2 separate regions of the Homo sapiens genome follow, and region 2 is linked to region 1. Evidence: promoter capture Hi-C in 16 types of primary human blood cells and fetal thymus (Javierre and others, 2016). All regions are on one chromosome and are shown on one strand. Each heading gives the region's core, a stretch centred on a gene start or on the middle of the fragment in contact. The rest is flanking DNA. Distances are from core to core; before and after follow the strand shown.

What was found. The method cuts DNA at HindIII sites, captures the fragments that hold promoters and counts their contacts. A CHiCAGO score of 5 or more calls a contact.
Region 2: a contact is called between a fragment that was not itself captured here and the fragment with the promoter of SLC9A7 in region 1, in 1 of 17 cell types (neutrophils). The highest score is 5.4, in neutrophils.

Annotation. Positions count from the first base shown.
Region 1 is chrX:46,756,924-46,761,768 of GRCh38, forward strand. It overlaps SLC9A7 (solute carrier family 9 member A7), which reads right to left and starts at 2,195. Exons shown (of 17, transcript NM_001257291.2): 1 at 1,782-2,195. The coding sequence starts at 2,106. RefSeq lists silencers at 1,967-2,106, 2,127-2,476. The HindIII fragment of the contact is 14,531 bases long and covers 1-4,845 here.
Region 2 is chrX:46,980,080-46,984,924 of GRCh38, forward strand. JADE3 (jade family PHD finger 3) reads left to right here. Exons shown (of 11, transcript NM_014735.5): 2 at 4,805-4,845. The coding sequence starts at 4,816. Among named protein-coding and RNA genes, the nearest start is that of JADE3, 70 kb to the left of the region's middle. The HindIII fragment of the contact is 1,439 bases long and covers 1,187-2,625 here.

The sequences.
Region 1 (4,845 bases), core at 945-3,444:
AAGATAAAGGTGATTGAACTCCTCAGAACACGGAGTACTCTCCAGAAAATATATTTTCAAATCCCCATTTATTTTCCATCCCTTGAGCATGTGTTTACGAATCTGACAAATCTACCTCCTATTTCACATTGTCCTTTAAGAAACTGGGTCTAGGGCCTATTAAATAAAAATATTTTCACGGTTATCTATATAAAGGCAATTTTCATTTGCATCATGGCTTGGAGTCAATCACCTGCAATGACCACGTGCTTCAATTCCCCCCTGTCTGTCTTCTCAGGAAACCTCCCAGCTTACCTGCAGGCCTGGCATCAGTCATTTATCACCAACTGACACAAACCACAGAGCTCAACAACGGTCAGGGATGGAGGCCAAAGTCTGTGTTGAGACCTATAATTCGCAATCACCAAACTCGGTTTTAGACCTGGTCCTGTTTCAAGATCTGTGTAGGTCACTACTTCATCAAAACTGGAGGGCTCTTAACAGCGCTTGCCCCTTACACGGTTTGGCTGCGAGGGCCTGGTGGCCATGAGCCCCGGCTGTCAACAACTAATCAAGAAACATGAGAAGCAAGGCCCAGAACCAAGGGTAATTTTCACATTAAAGGTTAAGGTTTCTGCTTTCCATTCTCTATCAGGGCACCTGGATGGAAACTGAATAAAGAAATCCCTCAGTATATGTGATAAAATAAAATTTTCCCCGTTGGGAACAATCATGAAGTGGCTCGTCTATTTCGTGTGAGGATGCCAATTCAGGGGCTTTAACACCACTGAATTACATTCAAAAAGAGAATACCTGACTCCACTTTGGAGTCATGGGCAGGGCGAGGGGGGAGGCAGGGGGCACAGAAGAGGAAGAGGGATGACTCAGATTATGGCTGACATCCATGTAATAAAGGGAGATTTGTACTGACCACTGTGCATGTAACACACTGTGTACCATTAAATCTAGAAAAGGATGGTAGCATCAGCCCACCCCTAACAACAAAAGATGGCTGACTCCGGAATTAAAACCACGACTTTTCCCCTTCATACATTCGGAAATGTATCTCAAACTCACTCCCTGTTACCGTCTTAGGAATACAAAAGCTCCTCTTCGTTTGAGAAAGCAAGTAACTGGGTATAACTTTCCACTCGGGACATAAGAGCAGGAGGCGTGCCTGTCTCCTCGTCCAGGCCTGACATGGTGGTGCCACCCACTCTGGGTCCTGGACCACTGCTCACCTTTCACCACACTTCATGCTCTGACTTTATCATTAAGAGACCTGGGAATGTGGACCTCAGGAGTGGGTACCCACCCAGGCTGACCATGGATGTGGCGTCCAAGAGGCCCCACTAACCCATACCCAAGCAAAGACACTTTCAGACTTCGTCCCCACTCCCTACTGTGGCCTGTCCCCTGAGGTGATGCAGTCACCTGGGAAGCCACCCACCTCCAGCCACCACGCAGGCACACACACCCTATCGAGCTCAACTGGAGCGGGAGGTGGTGGGTAAGAGGTTTGCAACAGAGACCGAACGGGGCAGACGGAACCGGACCACCTCTGTCCCTTTCATTTTCCTGGGTTCCCAATGCAGAAACGTGGAATAGGGGTGGAATTGTTTTTAACGGTAGCAGAGAGCCAGAAAATGCAGACAGTTGACCTTGGGAACCAACACCGTCGCAGCGGGAAACGTAAAAGAAACGGAACACGTTGGCAAGTGAAGGGGGAGCACCGCGCGGCGCCAGGAGGAGCGCGGCGGCCGAGGGGTGTGGAGGGCGGGGGGTGTAACAGGGGTGCTCACCATAGATCATGGCCAGCCCGGTCTCGTGCAGAAAGCGCACCCGGCGGTGCTTGAAGAGCCAGATGGTGAGGATGGTGAGCGTGAGCAGCAGGATGAAGGTGAGCAGGCTCACGCTGTCTTGCCGGTGGCTCTCCTCCGCCTCCTTCTCAGTAGCGAGCTCCTCCATGGCGCTGCTGTCCTCCGCCGCCGCCCCAGAGGAGGAGGCCGAGGCCGCGGCCGCGACTCGCAGCCCCCAACCCAGCAGCAGCGGCAGCAGCAGCAGCCGCGGCGGCGGCGCCCCGGTAGCCCGACCCGAGCCAGGGCGCGCCGCGTCACCAGGCTCCATGGTCCCGGGGCCCCCCGCGCCTCCTCCGAGCGGGGACCAGCAGCCCGCGCCGTCGGCGGGTTCTGGCAGCACCGCGGACCTGCCGGAGTGGCCGTGGCCGCTGCAGCTCCTCCTCCTACTCGCGCCGGGCCGGGGCTGCGCCCGGGGCCGCGCGGGGGAGGGGCGCGCGCAGTGCGCAGGATCCCCAAGCACCGCCCCCCGCCCGCGCACCTGTTCGTCCCCCGGCCGCGCCACGCCGCACCGCCCCGCGGGCCAACCGAGCCACCCAGGCGGGGCCGGGTGTTGCCCTCGGGTCTGCGGGCCGGCCGCCGGCTGCTTGCCTCTCTGCGCTTCTCACCCCGTCCTGGCGCACCTGCCCAGGCAGTCTGGGGTCGTGGGGCCAGTTCATGGGCAGCCGCCGCCGCACTTCCGAAAGGGGACGCCAGAGGTCGCCGGCGCCTAGCGGGAGCATCGGCTTGGAGTGACTAGCCTTGCGGTCTCGAGTCCCGTCTCTGGCGCCACGGCGAAGTGTTTAATCTCAGGCCAGTGTGCAGCCGCCCTGGGCCCAGTAAAGTGGGGGCTGTCAGTGAACCGAGCAGCCCCGAAGCCACGTTAGCCCCTACACCTCTCTTTCCTCATCTCTCAGGTTGCCCTTCCAGCCCCAGAATCTGCTAGGTTTCATTCAAACCTCTGTTCTCATCAGACTCAAATGTGAGGACTGATAAGGAGTTGGAATCGGGGGAGGGCATTGAAGTATCTCCTTCCTCACTTGAGGGAATAGACTTCGTCTGCGCTGTGCTACTAATCCCCTTGGGGAATAGGGTTGAACCAGAAGGAACTGAACGCTTGCCATTCCTGGTAGATGAGCAGTAGCTGGTCCTAAGGTGGTGGTGGGGGGTGGGGGTTACCCTGATGACCCTTTCTTTTATGTTGCTCACCTGGTAGCTCAGAGAGTCTTTTAATGACTCTTAAGACCAAACCCAGCTCTGAACAAAATTATGGCGTGGACTCTGAAGGATGAAGCCTCTTGGAACAAATTCTCAGGAAAACTAGAATCTTCAATCCACCTTGCTCCTCTGGTCAAGGAAGAAACAAGATCAGATTAATCACTGAGTTCCCAGTGCTTAGCACTGTACTCATGTGTTTATTGAACCACTCTGAAATCTCTACCAAAACTGCCCATGTTTTCGCTCCCAGGGGAGTTTGCATTTTTAAGAGGATTCATTGAAGAAGGTGATGCTTAACCAAATGAAATAATAGGGTAGAGGTAGCATTAGGTAAGAAAACTCTTTGGAGTACTGCAGCCTTCCTGGTTCCCCTGTAGGTGAGCACTCTGCCAAAGCTGTTTAGTGGTTTCTTTAAAGCAGGGAAATCTCTTCATCTACATTTTAGCTAGCCCCTTTCCCAACTCCTCTAGGCAGTCACTCAGCCCCTGCAAACATCCGTATACCTTGAAGTTCCACACAGGTTTCCAATAAAATTGCAAATACTTAAAACCTGGATGGGCACTGTGTTGGTCATAATATTATGCCCCTTTGGGTGCCCAGTACTCAAGGACAGAATTTCTCTCTTTAGAAAAGGGCAACTCAGGAGCTACCTTAAAAGTACAGACTTCTTAGTATTTGTGGCGGATTGTATTTTTTAAAAAGATGGCCACAATCATATTTCCAATCCCAGAACCTTACCATCCCCCATCAAGAAGGGGCATCTATGTTCCCTCCCCTTGAACCTCAGTGGACCTTTGTGACTCCCTCAAAGAATATAATGTGGTAATGGAGATTATGTGATTTGTGAGGCTAGGTCATAAAAGGTAATCTAGCTCCTGCCTGTTTCATTCTGTCACTTTCCACTCTAGCTAGGCTGGGCACGGTGGCTCACGCCTGTAATCCCAGCACTTTGGGAGGCCAAGGCGGGCGGATCACCTGAGGTCAGGAGTTCAAGACCAGCCTGACCAACATGGCAAAACCCTGTCTCCACTAAAAATACAAAAATTAGCCGGGTGTGGTGGTGTGTGCCTGTAATCCCAGCTACTTGGGAGGTGGTGGCACGAGAATCACTTGAACCTGGGAGGCAGAGGTTGCAGTGAGCCAAGATTGCACCACTGCACTCCAGCCTGAGTGACAGAGTGAGACCCTGCCTCCAAAAACAAAAAAACAAACAAACAGACAAAGAAATCTAGCTACCTGGAAGCTGACATACTGAAGAAACCATGTAGAGAGACCATGTAGCAATAGAGGTAGATGCCACAGGAGACCCAACTTTTTGAGTGTTCCCAGCCCAAATGCCACACATGTGAATGAATGAGTCTTCAAATCAATTCATTCCCAGCCACCATCTTACTGTAGACATATGAGAGGCCCCAAGCAAGAACCATGTCGCTGAACCTAACCAACATCTGCAACTGTAGCATAATAAAATGATTGGTGTTATTTTAAGCTACTAAGTTTGAGGGTGGTTTCTTCCACAGCAATAGATAACCAGAAGAGTATTTATTATGTAAAGTAGTTCCCTTGGGTAGAGTATGAAAAGACTAGTCCCAACCATTCACAAATACACACCAAAGAAAACACTCCATTATCTCTACATATTTATGTGTGAAAACTAACCTATATAATACAGGAGTTCTGATTTCAGTTAACACAGAATAATCACACTAAACCCATTACCTGCTACTGAATACAGCTATAAAATGTGAACAGAATGCATGCAGCAACTATTTGAGGACTCTGGAAAGTAAATTGTACCACATAAACTGAGGAA
Region 2 (4,845 bases), core at 656-3,155, 220 kb after region 1:
ATGTTGGCCAGGCTGGTCTCGAACTCCTGACCTCAAATGATCCGTCCGCCTTAGCCTCCCAAAGTGCTGGGATTACAGGTGCGAGCCACCATGCCCGGCCCATCTCTTGATTTTTAATTAGGTCATTTGTTTCCTTACTGTTGAATTTTTAGAGTTCCTTATGCATTCTGTAATATAAGTTCATTGTCAGATATGTGTTTTATAATAAATATTACATGTATAATATTTCTAAGAAATGACCAAAATATTTTCTAGAATAGCGATTCCTTTTTACATTCCCACCAGCAATGTATGAGTGATAGTTTCTTCACATCTTCTCCAGCATTTGATATTACACGTGTGTGTAATATGTGTAAATATTCTGTCCCATTCTGCTTGCTTTTGCGTCTTCTTAACAGGGGCTTTCTCAGAGCAGAAGTTTTTTTAAAAATATAAGTAGATAGTTTATTTGGGCCAAGTTTGAAGACCACAACCCAGCAGCATAGATTCAAGTTGCCCTGGATATGCTTCTGAGAGCAAAAGTCTTTAATTTTGATGAAAACACATTTTTCTTTGCCAATCATGCTTTAGGTATCAAGTCTGAGAACTCTTTGCTTAGCCCTAGATCCTGAAGACTTTCTCTTATGCTTTTTGTAAATATTTTATAATTTTACATTTTTCATTTAAGTCTGTGATCCATTTTGAGTTACATTTTGTATATTAGGTTGTGGTAGGCAGAGATGTCCGTGTCCTAATCTCTGCAACCTATGAATATGTTAAGATTGCTATTTAGCTGACTATAAAATAGGGACATTATCCTGGATTATCTGGGTGGGTCCAATGTAATTACATGGGTTCTTAAAAGTGGAAGAGGGAAGCAGAACAGAAGGGTCAGAGAATGAGATGCGATGACAGAAACAGGATCAGAGAGATTCAGTGTTGTTTGCCTTGAAGATGGAAGAAGACAGCCAAGATCAAGGGAGTAAGAGTGTCCTCTAAAAGCTGTAATAGGCAAGGAAATGAGTTCTCCCCTGTAGCCTCTAGAAAGGAACGCAGTCCTGATGACATCTTGATTTTAGCTCTGTGAGACCTGTGTCAAAATCCTGACCCACTAAACTATAAGATAGTAAATTTATGTAGTTTTAAGCCACTGAGTTTGTGATAATTTGTTACTGTAACGTTAGAAAACTAATAGGTGTTTTAGAAAAGCTTCTATTAAAATAGGATTTTATACATTTGGGTATACTGTGTATCTGAACAATTTTTATATATGCAACATCCCCATGATATCAGATAAATGAAGTGCTACTCTAAGTAGATCTGTGCATTCAGTGGGGAATAGTTAGAAAATGTATTACTTTTATTTCTGCTTAAATTTCTACATTCATTGTGACTTTAAATTCCCCACTACTACTTTTTAATAGGAAGTGTCTTGTTGTTACTGTTGGTTTTGTTTGCGTTTCAGAAGAGATTTGAATGAAATTTTGCACCAGAGAGCCAAATGTAGCCCCAAAAATTTATGTGATGGGAGGCTCTTTTTTAAAAATATTCAATTGACTTTGACTGTAGGACAAACAGAACCTTAGTTAATGGTTCTGATTCTTGTACTAATTTTATTAGTTTTTTAAATGACAGCTTTGAGATATAATTTGTATACCATGCAGCTTACCCACTTAAAGTATACAATTCAGTTATTTTAATATATTCACAGATATGTGCAACCAATCACCAAAGGACACAATATGTTTTCACACTGTCTTCTAATTTTGTTTCTGAGAAATTAGCTGTTAATTTTATTGGAGTTCTCTTGTAAGTGATGAGTTGTTTTTTTTCCCGGGCTGCTTTCAAGATTTTCTCCTTGTCTTTGGCTTTCAGTAATTTTACTATGAGGAATCTCTTTCTGGATCTCTTTGCATTTATCCTACTTGGAGTTCTTTGAGTTTCCTGAATATGTAAATTAATGTTTTTCAGTAAATTTGGGGAGTTTTTCTAATATTTTTTCTGCTCCTTTCTCATTCACTTTTCCTTTTGGTACTCCCATTATGTATATGTTGATGAACTTAATGATGTTCTACATTTCTCTGAGGCTGTTTCTTCTTCTTTTTTCCATCTGTTCTTCAACTTGCCTAATCACTGTTGACCTACTTCAAGTTCATTAATTCTTTTTTCTGCTTGTTCAATCTACTGTTGAGGCCCTTCAGTGAATTTTTCATTTCAATTGTGCTTTCATCACCAGAATTTCTATTTGGTTATTTTTTATACTTCCTATTTCTTTATTGATAGTCTCTGTTTTGTAAAATATTGTCATCATACCTTCCTTTACTTCTTTAATCATGGTTTTCTTTAGTTCTTCGAACATATTTATATGGCTAATTTGAAGGTTTTGCCTGTTAAATCTGACATGTGGTTGTATGGGTCATACTTTCCTGTTTCTTTGCATATCTCTTAAGTTTTTGTTGGAAACTGGGCATTTTGGATAATATATTGTAACAATTGTGGGTACTACCCCTCCACCAGGGTTCTTTATTATTATTTGCTTGTTTACTGCTTTAGTAACTGCCTGGATTATTTTATTGAAGTCTATTTCCTCAACCCCCATTCTCACCCTGCAGTATGAAGCCTCTAATGTTGCTCTTCGGGGGTACAAGCTTGTGTATGCCCACAGTCACCCTGGGATGACAGTGGGTTTGGTGAGGCTCTCCTTGGCTGTCTCTTTACTTGACCACACCATGCTGTTATGGTCTACTAATTGTTGACTGGTTGCTCTTGTTTTGTTTTTGTTTTTTTGAGATGGAGTTTCACTCTTGTCGCCCAGGCTGGAGTGCAGTGGCGCGATCTCAGCTCACTGCAACCTCCACCTCCCGGGTTCAAGCAGTTCTCCTGACTCAGCCTCCCGAGTAGCTGAGATTACAGGCGCCTGCCACCATTCCCAGCTGCTCTGTTGTTTTAATCATGTCCTGGAATATAAATTGCTCCACAAACTGATCCAATCAAATTAGGGCTCCTTTGAAGATAGTTCCTGAGATCTGTGTTTGAGATTTCTTCTGACCGCAAGAGGCTCTTTCCCTGCTGTCTCTTTCTCTGGTTCTCTCTGGCATATTAGGCAGCCTAGGCTTGAACTTCTGTACACTCAGTTGCAAATGAAGTCAGTTTCATTGCAGGAGAATTGAAGCCCCCTATTCTATGCCCTGCCTCTCTCCCTGGGAAAAATCTTTGAGCCACAGCTCTGGCGCAGTGGATGGAGATAAATGGTGAGCTTCCCTCTGAGTGTCAGCCCCAGGTCTCCCAGGTTTGCCTCTTCTGGTATAGAACCCCCACCCCACAAGGTAACGCCAGAGCAATCAAGGCTCTGGTATTCTTGGTGGCACAACACCCAAGGCATAGCCTCCATCCCATGAGTTGGGGGCTAGGTGGAAGAAGGGAGCCCCCACCTCTCAGCCACATTCTCCTGGAACGTAGCCTCAGCAAAAGTAGCTGGGAACGGGATAAGAGATGCCGACATCCTGTTCTTCCCAGGAAGAAAGGAGCTTGGAGCTGGGGTAGAAGGAACCCTGTGTTCTTGGCTACTGTACTCTGGCATGAGATCTTTGCTGGGAGGGAAGATGGAGGAAGTGGTTCTAGATCCAAATACTGCAGACTTTGACTTTACTTTATGAATTTTAGTAGATTTTCTCGAATAAGTACTTCATTTGCTGTATGCCCTTAAAACCATTTCCAGAGACTTTAAATGGTTGGTTTTTTTTTAATTGAAATAACTTTCACCAATTTTGCTGGGAAGAGGGTCGTCCATGGAGCTGCTCACACTGTTATGCCAGAAGTGGAACTCTGTGAGCTTTTTAATGTAAAATTTTGTTGCTGCTATTCTTAATTGCTCAGAGTGGCCTTGTATTTGGATTTCTACCTCCTCAGTAGATTGTAAATAGCTTGAAGGCAGTAGCCCTGACCTTTATTCATTATGGAATCATGATAGCCCCTGGTAGCATGTTGTATGTTGTGGCACATAAAAGAATGTCAGTCACTGGCTATATTGCTGTCTTTTCAAGTTTACATTTTCAGCACTTCGTTTGTGACTTAAAGTGCTTAACTGTGTCTTCCTTTTTTCTTACACTCCAGTGCTAGTGTGTTCCCAGAAGGGTGATGCTTCTTTTTTATCTGTCATTGGCCATACTCAGGGAAGTACACTTGAACCGTTGGAAGTTTTAGTCCAAAGCATTTTTATTTACCCTTCACAATATAGGAGCTTTGTTTAACATTCCTTGTAGTGTATATATAATTTTGACTTTAGGCTACTTATTTGGGATATGGGGACAGGAAGAGAGTGAGAGAGGGATAAAGGGCAGGCAGAAAATCAGTGTGGTCGTGTTCTTAAAGGTGGATGTGCCTCACTTGTTCTTTCTTCAGCCAACTATGTCTCATGCTTTTCAACCTTGGCTCTTGATGGCCCTGCCCTCATGACTGACCTGTTCGTCTCTTATTGGGGATCACTGGCTGGTTATGGCCCCATGGCTGCCCCACCCTTTGTTTTGGTGGACAGTGGCCATGTGGCCACATCTGAGGCTCCAGTTAGTGCTGTACCACTCATTTGTGGCTTGGGCTTCCTCCTAAGGCTAATGTGGCCTTTCTTAGTCTTTGACATGCTTTGTATTGAAAGATCTGGTAGTACTCTTCTGTCATTATTCTAAGTCATTTGAGAATATTCTTGACAAAAATCATTCAGTTTGTATGATTTGCTTGCTGCTATTTCTGGGATCCATGGGACAGTGTTGACTGCCCTCTGGGATGGGTGTGTGTGAACTGTTTTATTCAGTGTTTTTCTTTTTCCCAGGATGCTCCAGGATGAAACGCCATAGGCCTGTCAGCAGCAGT